Regions from separate parts of the Homo sapiens genome. Here region 2 is linked to region 1. The links are contacts of gene promoters, found by promoter capture Hi-C in blood cells and fetal thymus (Javierre and others, 2016). All regions are on one chromosome and are shown on one strand. Each heading gives the region's core, a stretch centred on a gene start or on the middle of the fragment in contact. The rest is flanking DNA. Distances are from core to core; before and after follow the strand shown.

Region 1 (5,290 bases), core at 836-3,335:
GAGCTAGGGCGTGGGCCAAGGTCCATTTTCTTACGTATGATATACTACCTCTCAAATTAGGCGAACCTCCTCATTTTAACAAGAAGCATATACTGATGAAGTATTTGCTCAGGGCTGCCAAGCCTGAGTTTAAACGTACTTTCTCTGTCCCTGCTGCACTGCAGTATTCATATTAACAATTTACAACAGACAGGGCGCCGTGGATCACGCCTGTAATCCCAGCACTCTGAGGGGTCAAGGCAGGCCCATCTCCTGAGGTCAGGACCTCAAGACCAGCTTGGCCAACATGGTGAAATCCCATCTCCACAAAATAATAAAAATAGGCCGGGCGTGGTGGCAGACGCCTGTAATCCCAGGTACTAGGGAGGCTGAGACAGGAGAATCGCTTGAATCCGGGAGGGGGAGGCTAGTGAGCTGAGATCACGCCACTGCACTCCAGCCTGGGAAACAGAGGGAGACCCAATTTCAAAACAAAAAAAAAAATTTACATCATTATAGAACAGTACTATCCAATACAAAATAATTGATCAGAAAGCTGGTGATTTTTATCTCAAAGAGCCAATAATAAATTCGTTTTCACCTTAAAAAAAAAAACCCAAACTACTATTTAAAAGATTTTCAGAAGCCAAAAGTTTCACAGTCAAAAGTTTCATATAAACACTAGCTTGACTAAGATGATCAAGAGATAGAAGCACTAAATGGCAGACCATTGTTTGCTGAATCTTAACAATGTCTTTCCGGCCCCAAACTTTAAGTTCATTCCAGTGTATGACGCTTTCAAACATTTTGGGTTGGCCGGGCGCGGTGGCTCACGCCTGTAATCTCAGCACTTTGGGAGGCCGAAGCAGGCGGATCACGAGGTCAGCAGTTCGAGACCAGCCTGACCAACATGGTAAAACCCCGTCTCTACTAAAAATAAAAAAATTAGCCGGACATGGTGGCAGGCGCCTGTAATCCCAGCTATTCAGGAGGCTGAGGCAGGAGAATCGCTTGAACCGGGGAGGCGGAGGTTGCACTGAGCGGAGATCACGCCATCGCACTCCAGGTTGGGTGAGTGCGACTCCGACTCAAAAAAAAAAAAAAAAAAACTTGGGGTCAGCGGTTAATACATATATTTGGTTAGAAAATATCTAGGTACAGCCGCGCGTGGTGGCAAGAGCCTTTAGTCCCAGCTACTCGGGACGCCAAGGCAAGAGGATCGCCTGAGACCAGGAGGAGTTCGAGGCTGCAGTGAGCCGTAACAACGCCACTGCACTTCAACCTGGGCGACAGAGGGAGACCCTATCTCTAAAAAAAAAAAAAAGAGAATAGGTACTTACAAGATTGATAAATGAAACAAATGTAAAACAATTTTAGTGGCTTCTCTAAAGTGAATTTCACCAAACACAATACACGGCACCTAAAACTGGCTAAGCTATCTAGGTAAAAAAGGGAGTAGGAAAGACTAAGTCCTTCACCTTCTCCATTCTATTAATTTGATTGCCCAAACCATCAACACTGTCACCAGCTACCAACTAAAAAAAGAGGAAAAGCTCTTGGTCGAATGCTCAGAATTACCACTCCAGGGAAGATCTGTCCGTTTGTCTTTCGCGGAAAAAATAACCCCCACAACCTTCTCTGCCCAAACAACATGGAGTACGCCTGCAGACGCCTACCTTAATGAAACCGATATCCTTCGCGTACTGACGGAAACACTGGCGGCACATATTGAGGCCATATTTCCGGATCAGACCGTGCCGGTTTGAACAGACACGACTGTAAGAAAAGAGACAGCGGTTTTGCAGGTCATAGAAATTACAAGACTCCGCACTCAGACGGCTACTACCCGCATCCCGGGACTCCCAAGCCACAGTACAGGCCTGTAATGGCGGCACCAGCGACTCCCAGTCGGCGTGCTCCCTCGTGCCGCCCGTGGCCTCCTCTACTTGAGATTTTAAGCAGCCTAGCGCTCCACGGCAACGCTTCCCCAAAATCACAAACTATTTCTCACCAAGAGCGAGAACCCTGGCCGAATTTTCGCGGGTGGCTCCAGTACAGCTGCTGGTGACCCATCTTGCTCTCAGCAGTGCAACGAGGTAAAAGGAAGAAGCTGGCCCACGCATGCGCTCTTCAAATTTTTGAGACAGTTTACCCAGAATGCAGTGCTCAAAGGAAACGCGTGCGCAGTGTGGTCAGGTTGTTTCGCTGGGTGAGTAAAATGAAATCTTAGAGGCGTTGTGGGCTGGCCCAGTTGATGACGTCACCATACCACAGCTTCTAGTGCTATTCTGCGCCGGTATCCGACCGCCGGGCGCGGTGGCGCGTGCCTGTAGTCCCAGCTACTCGGGAGGCTGAGGCTGGAGGATCGCTTGAGTCCAGGAGTTCTGGGCTGTAGTGCGCTATGCCGATCGGGTGTCCGCACTAAGTTCGGCATCAATATGGTGACCTCCCGGGAGCGGGGGACCACCAGGTTGCCTAAGGAGGGGTGAACCGGCCCAGGTCGGAAACGGAGCAGGTCAAAACTCCCGTGCTGATCAGTAGTGGGATCGCGCCTGTGAATAGCCACTGCACTCCAGCCTGGGCAACATAGCGAGACCCCGTCTCTTTTGAACAATAAATACGTTAATTTTGGACTCTCAAGAGATGAATATTCTCATAGTCTTTTTTATTGATTAAACCTTTTACTTTCTTTTAATTAAAACGTTACACTTGGGAAAGGAGTTTTTCCTCGACTCACCAGTGACACCTACTGGAATAAATTTACAAAACAACTTAAAATCAGCTGTAATGATCACGAGTCAACGGTAGGGTTTGCTTTTATTTTGTTAAAGAGAGTACGTTTTCAAATTTATTTTTTTGACACACTCCTCCAAGAAATACACCTACACCATTCCAAAAAAAAATGAGATTCTTTGGCATTTAGTGTATTTGATTCTTAAATGTAATTGGCTGAATGTAAAGTAATAAACAAGTAATGTGCAGTGTATGTTGCTTTGACCAGATAATTTGGTGACAAAACAAGTAATGAAAAGCAAATGCAAAAATGCAAAAAACCAATGTCAATAAACGAATTTCTGCTGAAAGATACCTACATTCCATATGGTCATTTATAATGCCTCCAGATAAAACTGCTCTGAAATCAAAGCTTTAACTAGATTTATAAAATGTAGCACAGGGTGCAACAATTCCAGAAACTTTTACATATAAACTTTTATAAATTGAAATACAACACTTCTTTAAGGTATGTTATGTCAGGGTTCTAGTGGGGTCCCCCTACCCAATCATTAAGTTAGGCATTGTATTATATGATTAAGGAAGGAGGGGAGTCAGAGATTTGTAAACTAGATATAACTTGCTCCTTGCCCTCAAAATTTTCTAATCTGTGGGAAACAGGATTATCTCCAAGACTTCAACATACAACGTTTGTGCACCAACAACATATGTACAGCTAAGGAAAATATTCTGTATTAAATCATGGGTGTGCTCATGAAGTACGAAAGGAGCCAAGAAGAGAAATTAATTCCAGTTCGAGGTACATTTGAGAGACCTTTGAGGTAGACCTTGAAGAATGGGATTTCTACAGGCAGCACTTGACAGAAGGGAATGCCTGGTGAAAGGAAGCGCTTGAGCCAAGGTAAGGTGAACAACTTTGTGTAACTAGAATAGAAGATGGACAAAAGGCCTAGTGATAGGAATGAAAAGGTATTTTATTTTAAAGCCTCATTGGGCAAGATCCAATGTCAAGCTTTTACAACTTTCCTATAATTTATATCAGTCACTAATGTGTGGTTTCCAAAAGCCATTTGCCTCTCAAAAGCTAATCTAACATTTGTCCACACTTTCTTAGGCCTCTTCTAGTTGGTCTCCACAATATTTAAAACATTACAGTGGTTCTGAGATCAATTCCATTAATATTTTTAGTACTCTGATATATAAGCCTTTGGGCCTAAAGAAGTGAATTCATTTAGGAGAGAAAAAAAGACAAATGAGAAGCAATTAGTTGCACTTCAACAATCTTAATCTGAATACTTAAGTAATTCTTAATACTTATTCTAGTCTATACATTATTCTCTTTGATAGAGATATTGCAAAAGTGCAGCTAAGACGTCGTACTTCCTTTCAGTTTTAAGATAATGTGACACCATCTATCCCAAACCATGAAATTATCCATTTCTTTTTCAACAAACTGAGAACACAGCTTTAAAAGTTCATTTTAACTCGGTGTTTATCAAGAGCTTTTATGTTTTGTTTTGTTTTTTTTCCTTTTTTTTTGAGACGGAGTCTCACTCTGTCGCCCAGGCTGGAGTGCAATGGCACCATCTTGGCTAACTGCAACCTGCACCTCCTGGGTTCAAGGGATTCTCCTGCCTCAGCCTCCCGAGTTGCTGAAATTACAGGCACGTGCCACCACACCCGTCTAATTTTTTACATTTTTGGTAGAGATGGGGTTTCACCATGTTGGCTAGGCTGGTCTCGAAGTCCTGACCTCGAGTAATCCACCCACCTCAGCCTCCCAAACTGCTGGGATTACAGGAGTGAGCCACCACGCCCGGCCTAAGAGCTTTTATCTTAATCCTGTAGTCTTCTTACAGTTTCTGAGTCCTTTTTTTTTTTTTTTTTTTTTTTTTTGAGACGGAGTCTGGAGTCTCGCTCTGTGACCCAGGCTGGAGTGTAGTGGTGCGATCTCGGCCCACTGCAAGCTCCGCCTCCCGGGTTCACGCCATTCTCCTGCCTCAGCCTCCCGAGTAGCTGGGACTACAGCGCCCGCCACCATGCCCGGCTAATTTCTTTTTGTATTTTTAGTAGAGACAGGGTTTCACCCTGTTAGCCAGGATGGTCTCGATCTCCTGACCTCATGATCCGCCCGCCTCGACCTCCCAAAGTGCTGGGATTACAGGCGTGAGCCATCTTAGTTCTCTTTTATACATGGGTTTGAAATGCTTCTTCTTTTAGAACACATTTTCCTTTAATAGGATATTTATTGGGTTTGGGTTCTTTGTTTTTTAAAAAATGTACAATGAAGTGCAAAGAAAAAGAAAAAAAAAAGTGCCATAATGTCCTTGCCCAGATAACCCTACTAATATTTTTCTTTTGAAAAACTAAAAGTAATATACATGTAAGATCGAAGCATTCTAACACTGCAAAGTATAGATCTTATTTTTAAGTACATTGGAATAATATGCATGTTAGGACACTATTATTCAAGATGTCTTTAATTTTCTTTCTCAAATTATTCTTACAGTCTTCTGTGATCATCCATCCAGAATTTAATCATTTAAAAACCTTCATCTTAGACGTATACACTGCTGAT
Region 2 (5,290 bases), core at 1-2,500, 950 kb after region 1:
AATCCCTGAAAGGAACCGCTAAAGTAAAACAAAACCCAGCAAGTTAATATCACATTTTTATCGCCAACCAAAAACAAACGATCAAACTTCCACCAGGAAAAGCATCTTTTTATATGGGATAATGCTTGCATAAATGTCACCAATATTAGTTTGCTTACAGTTAAAGCTCAGAGACAGGGTTTCATATGGCTTTTTTAGTCAAACTCATCCATTGAAACAAATTTTTTTAAAAAAATGCAAATGTCTGAATGTCAATATTCTTTCCTGTCTATCTTCCATGAAGCATTTTTCCATGCTAACACTAGAGCATCCTTCGGTGTAATTCCACAAGCAGATTCAAATTCCCTTCAATACCATAAATAAGCCCTATTAAAAAGCCTTTAAACCACAAAAAAAGTGCAACAGCGGTTTGCAACTGTGTGGTTAGTTCTGCCTGTTGGTAGCGATTAGAACAAGCCATGAGTCGAGGGTGCTCAGAACCGAGTAAAAGGGACCCCGGCCGCTTTCTCCCCAAGAGGCAACAATAAAAGCATCCTCCTCTCGCCCCAATACTTCGCAGGAAAGTGGCCCCATTCCCGGGACCCAGTCGACCGCAGGAAAAAAGCACGGCCAGCCTCACTTACCTTATAGACGTCCCCGTAGGTGCCGCTGCCGACCCTCTGGACGAGTTCGTAGTCCTGCTGCGGGTTCCGCCTCAGGATGTCCGCGGCAGGCCGCAGCGGGGCCTCCATCTTCACTTAGGGCCCGGCCCCCGCCAGCTCACCCCGCGGCTCCCGGATTCCCGCTAACAAGCACGAACGGCGCCGCTTCCCAACATGGAGCCTCCGCCCGCAGCTCCGTCTGCACGAGGGACGAGCAAAGGCTGGTTGGCGTCGCAGGCTACGACCCCCAGCGGCCCGCGCCCTCGCGGCCCGGCCCCTTCCCTTCCGTCCCGCCAGGGGCCGTGGAAGAGAAAGGGGCCTGGAAGGGCCCCCGGCGCCCCGTATCCCCGTTCGGTCTGCGGCCCTTCCCCCTCCCCGGCCGCCCGCGAACTGCCCGACGAGGCCTCCCCGCCAGCCGGGGCCCAGGGCCGGCTCCGTACCTAATGGGGGCGGCCCCGTCTTTGTTGAGCGCGGAGCCCGGGACCTACTTCCTAGACCGCACCCGCGTCCTCCTCCCGCGCGCCGGCCGGCAGCTCCGGGTTTGCCGTCGCCGCCGCCGCCACTCAGCCGCTGCACGGCGCGTCCTCTCGGGGGCGGCGGAGGCGCGTACAGTCGCCGCCGCCGCCGCCGCCGCACCACGTTCCCCACCCGGGGCTGCGTCACCGGGAGACACGTTCCCAGCCAGCATGGGTCGGCGCCCAGCGGCCCGCCCGAGCACTCCGGCCGCAGAACCAGAGTGCCGCCCTGAGGCCTGCTGAGAACACAACACCCTCCCGACCGCGCCACCGCGCCCCCCTAGCCGGGCGCGTCCTTGCAGGGCCTGGGCTGTCTCCCTCCCACTCTCAGAAATAAGGCACACGCCTGGGCATTCGTGGGCCAACGGGCCTTGGCTAAACCGTCCCCACATTTGTCAGGTAGGCCTGTAGGGTGACGGGTAGAGGAAGAAGGGCGATGGGAACGTAGCCCTCCAAGTTAAACACGGAAAAGGTACGTTAAGGGCACCGGGCCAGAAGTAACCTGGCAGCGGGGCGCCGGGGAAGGAGGTGGGGGAGTGCCAGGTTAACTAAGTCCCGGCACACCCTACTGCACCTTCCTGTTTTGCAAACCGATCCCGGTGGTACCAGTTTGAGGCTGCACTGCACACCTGCACAACCTGCCTTCTACTTAGTTCTTCTGAGACATTTCTGAAAGTCTGAATTCCTAGGACTGCTCAATGACCTTTGTCCCTGTTGGGCACACGCAGTGTCTCATCGCTGGTATTGCACCTTTAATGAGACCAGGAGTTCCGCAAAAGTAAAACAAAGGGGTCACAGACTGGTTCTGGTTCTACCACTTCCTCAGTATGTGCTCTGGGACAAAACAGCATATTTGGCAACATCTCGGTGTCCTTATCTGCAGCTTGAAGAGGGTAAGATTTTGCATCTGACACCCAGGAAAGTGTTTATAAAGCGTTTTACAGGATAGTAAGGGGGGTTATCGAATATAAGAGGTCTTAAAATACTTAACAATGCACAGCATATATGGAACAGGAGTTCGGGGAAGTAATTTGGCTGATATTTCACAAGCTGTTTTGCAGTTTCAGTTCCAGTCTTGCTCTGAAGGTAGAAATTAAGTTGCCAGTGTTACATTATACTGGCTAAGTTATTTCTAGAGCCTCATAGAGAATTTGAACAGAAAAGCCAGATAACACTCAGCCACTGCATTTAGTGACTGAAACATCATAAAAGAGCAAGTTGGAGATGTTGGCTTGTGGCTTTGAACATCCAATTTTTAATTCTGCTCTTGAGAATTAAAATACTCCTTATTGTTGATAATTGTATAATGTATAATAAGGAGTAATTGACAATACTCCTTATTGTTGATAATTGTATAATGTAGAAATTAAATTCGCACCTTAACAGGACAGGGCATATATGTATTTTCTTGTGCTCCACACACAAAGGGCACTTATTTGGGGAACATAAGTAAGCCCAGACTTACATGCTCCATGGACAAAGCCTATGTGTTTGCTGCATTGAAAAAATTGTTGAAGAACAGTTCCTTCTTTCAAAGATTCTTGGCACTTGTTTTGGTGGGCACATACTTTTGGCTTCGATGACTCAAAATCTCTTCAAATGTTCTATTGGTATCTTAGCACTTGTTTACTGTCATAGATTCATTTGAGATTTTTTTCCTCTGGCCATATAAGCACTGATCCTTTATCTAGTCTGAAATATATTTATTCTTACATGTTTACACTTGCGTTACTCCAGGGAATTTCAGGCAGCACACAGAAAACACTTACTATAAAACAAGATAAAAATAAGTGGGCAAACTAGTATGACGTTAAAGAGAAGGAAAATACGAAACCAGAACAGTGTGACAAATCGGCCAACCAGAGGATTTTATAGTGTTTTTGAGATCAAGAGTAACCAATTGATCAAGAAGAGGCATATATTTTCCTAATGCAAAGACTTCCAAAAATTTTATTTAATGAGCCTTCTTCATAAAGTAGAAACTGAATGCCCAGTTTGAGACGAGGACAAATATCCTGACAATCCTTTAAGCATGTTATTCTTGAAATACAGCATTTAAAATGAATTAGGCAGTGAAATGTTTGAGGTCATAGGCTTCAACAAGACCCTGGAGTGCGGATATTTTATGTTGCCAGTAATGGCAGATCCATATGCTTTGACCATCAACCTAGAGGCAGATAGCATGGAAAAAGTCAAGACTCTATGTGGTGGTTAAAAAGTCGAGACTCTATGTGTCTGCTATAATCATTATTTTACTTGTACTGCAATTCATGCAAAGAGGAAAACATTTGTTTTATACTAACTCCAAAAGAATCTTAAGGATTTTTAAAATACTGGTTGAGTTAATTTTAACAAGATCAGTGAAGTGGGTTGCTTTGTAAAGAAATGCAAATTCAATTTACTTAAATGTACACTGAGTAAATTTAATTTTACATCCTAGACAATTAAGCAAACAATTTCAAGGTTGAAGTTTATGTAATAATATGTTAGTTATGTCATGGTAACTGACCAGAGAGTTTCTTACAAACCACCCAGTTTCATATGACAAGGTATGGAATAAGAATAAATATGGCTTGATAGGTCCTTCATTCCAACCTAATTGTCATGCATTCTTAGTATCTTCATGCTGACACATAAATATTTTTCAGCTTTTACCCTTATCATTATAATATACGATAATGGTTTGCCACATGCTTTGTAATGTACTTCCCTTCTTTGAAAGTTCTTCAGTAAAATGCTGACTGTAATCTGTGGCCTCTAATTTCAGCTCTAACTTTAGCCAAGGCTGAATAAAAAAGAATTGGGAGACATAAAATGCTTTATCTTATATAAAGCTAAGGTTCACAATTTATTATCCAAGACAAAATGGCTAATTAAACCTTCAAGTGTGAAAGGACAGAGCATAAGGACAATAACTTTAGTCTATTGAACATACAGATTTAAGCAATCTGGTAATCTCCTGATTAATCTGCCAACATAAACTAATTTCAACATGTAACTCTATGATTCAGTTGACTGCTCTATAGATCTGTTAAACAGAAATCAATTAAATGTTGGAAGACATTGCCACAATTATGATTTGGATTTTTAAATAATTATTATTAAACTATTGTTTTACTAATTAGGGCCACTTGTCTTTTGAGGCATAAACCATGTTTTCCAAATATAGGGCAATTTTTATATAATTTGTTCTGGATGGCAATAGAACATGTATCTCATTCAGGATTAGTATCAGGTCATTAGGATGAGAGTTTTAAAAAGGAGAGGTGAGGAAGGCAGTCGATATCCCTTTCATCCAGTTTGAATTGATCATCAGATATGTTACTGATATGGTTTGTCTGTGTCCCCACCCAAATCTCATCTTGAATTCCCACGTGTTGTGGGAGGGACCAGGTAGGAGGTAATGAATCATGAGGGCAAGTCTTTCCCATGCTGTTTTCATGATAGTGAATAACTCTCACGAGACCTGATGGTTTTAAAAAGAGGAGTTCCCCTGCACAAGCTCCCTCTCTTTGCCTGCTGCCATCGTGTGAGACATGACTTGCTCTTCCTTGCCCTCTGCCATGATTGTGAGGCTTCGCAGCCACATGGAACTGTAAGTCCAATTAAACCTCTTTCTTTTGTAGATTGCCCGGTCTCAGGTTTGTCTTTATCAGCAGCATGAAAACAGACTAATACATTAAATTGAGGTCTGGCGCCATGGCCCATGCCTGTAATCCCAGCACTTTGGGAGGCCAAGGTGGGCGGATCATCTGAGGTCGGGAGTTTGAGACCAGCCTGACCAAAACCCCATCTCTGCTAAAACTACAAAATTAGCCAGGCATGGTGGTACATGCCTGTAATCCCAGCTACTTGGGAGGCTGAGGCAGGAGAATCGCTTGAACCCAGGAAGTAGAGGTTGTGGTGAGCCAAGATTGCACCATTGCACTCCAGCCTGGGCAACAAGAGCAAAACTCTGTCTCAAAAAAAAAAAAAAAAAAAAATTGTTACCAGTAGAGTGAGATGTTGCTGAAAAGTTACCTGAAAATATGGAAGCAACTTTGGAACTGGGTAACAGGCAGAGGTTGGAAGAGTTTGGAGAGCTCAGAAGAAGACAGGAAAATGTGGGAAAGTTTGGAACTTCCTAGAGGCTTG

What was found. Contacts are between HindIII fragments. The CHiCAGO score rates a contact against its expected background, and 5 or more counts as called.
Region 2: a contact is called between the fragment with the promoter of MAP4K5 here and the fragment with the promoter of RPS29 in region 1, in 1 of 17 cell types (fetal thymus). The highest score is 7.3, in fetal thymus.

Annotation. Positions count from the first base shown.
Region 1 is chr14:49,584,295-49,589,584 of GRCh38, forward strand. RPS29 (ribosomal protein S29) reads right to left here and starts at 2,086. Exons shown (of 3, transcript NM_001032.5): 1 at 1,991-2,086; 2 at 1,656-1,755. The coding sequence starts at 2,052. It also overlaps RN7SL1. RefSeq lists enhancers at 1-90, 1,117-1,166, 1,765-2,264, 2,137-2,646. The HindIII fragment of the contact is 6,928 bases long and covers 1-3,122 here.
Region 2 is chr14:50,531,319-50,536,608 of GRCh38, forward strand. It overlaps MAP4K5 (mitogen-activated protein kinase kinase kinase kinase 5), which reads right to left and starts at 1,251. Exons shown (of 33, transcript NM_006575.6): 1 at 1,130-1,251; 2 at 624-840. The coding sequence starts at 731. It also overlaps a transcript of ATL1 not described here. RefSeq lists a silencer at 945-1,574. The HindIII fragment of the contact is 11,447 bases long and covers 1-5,290 here.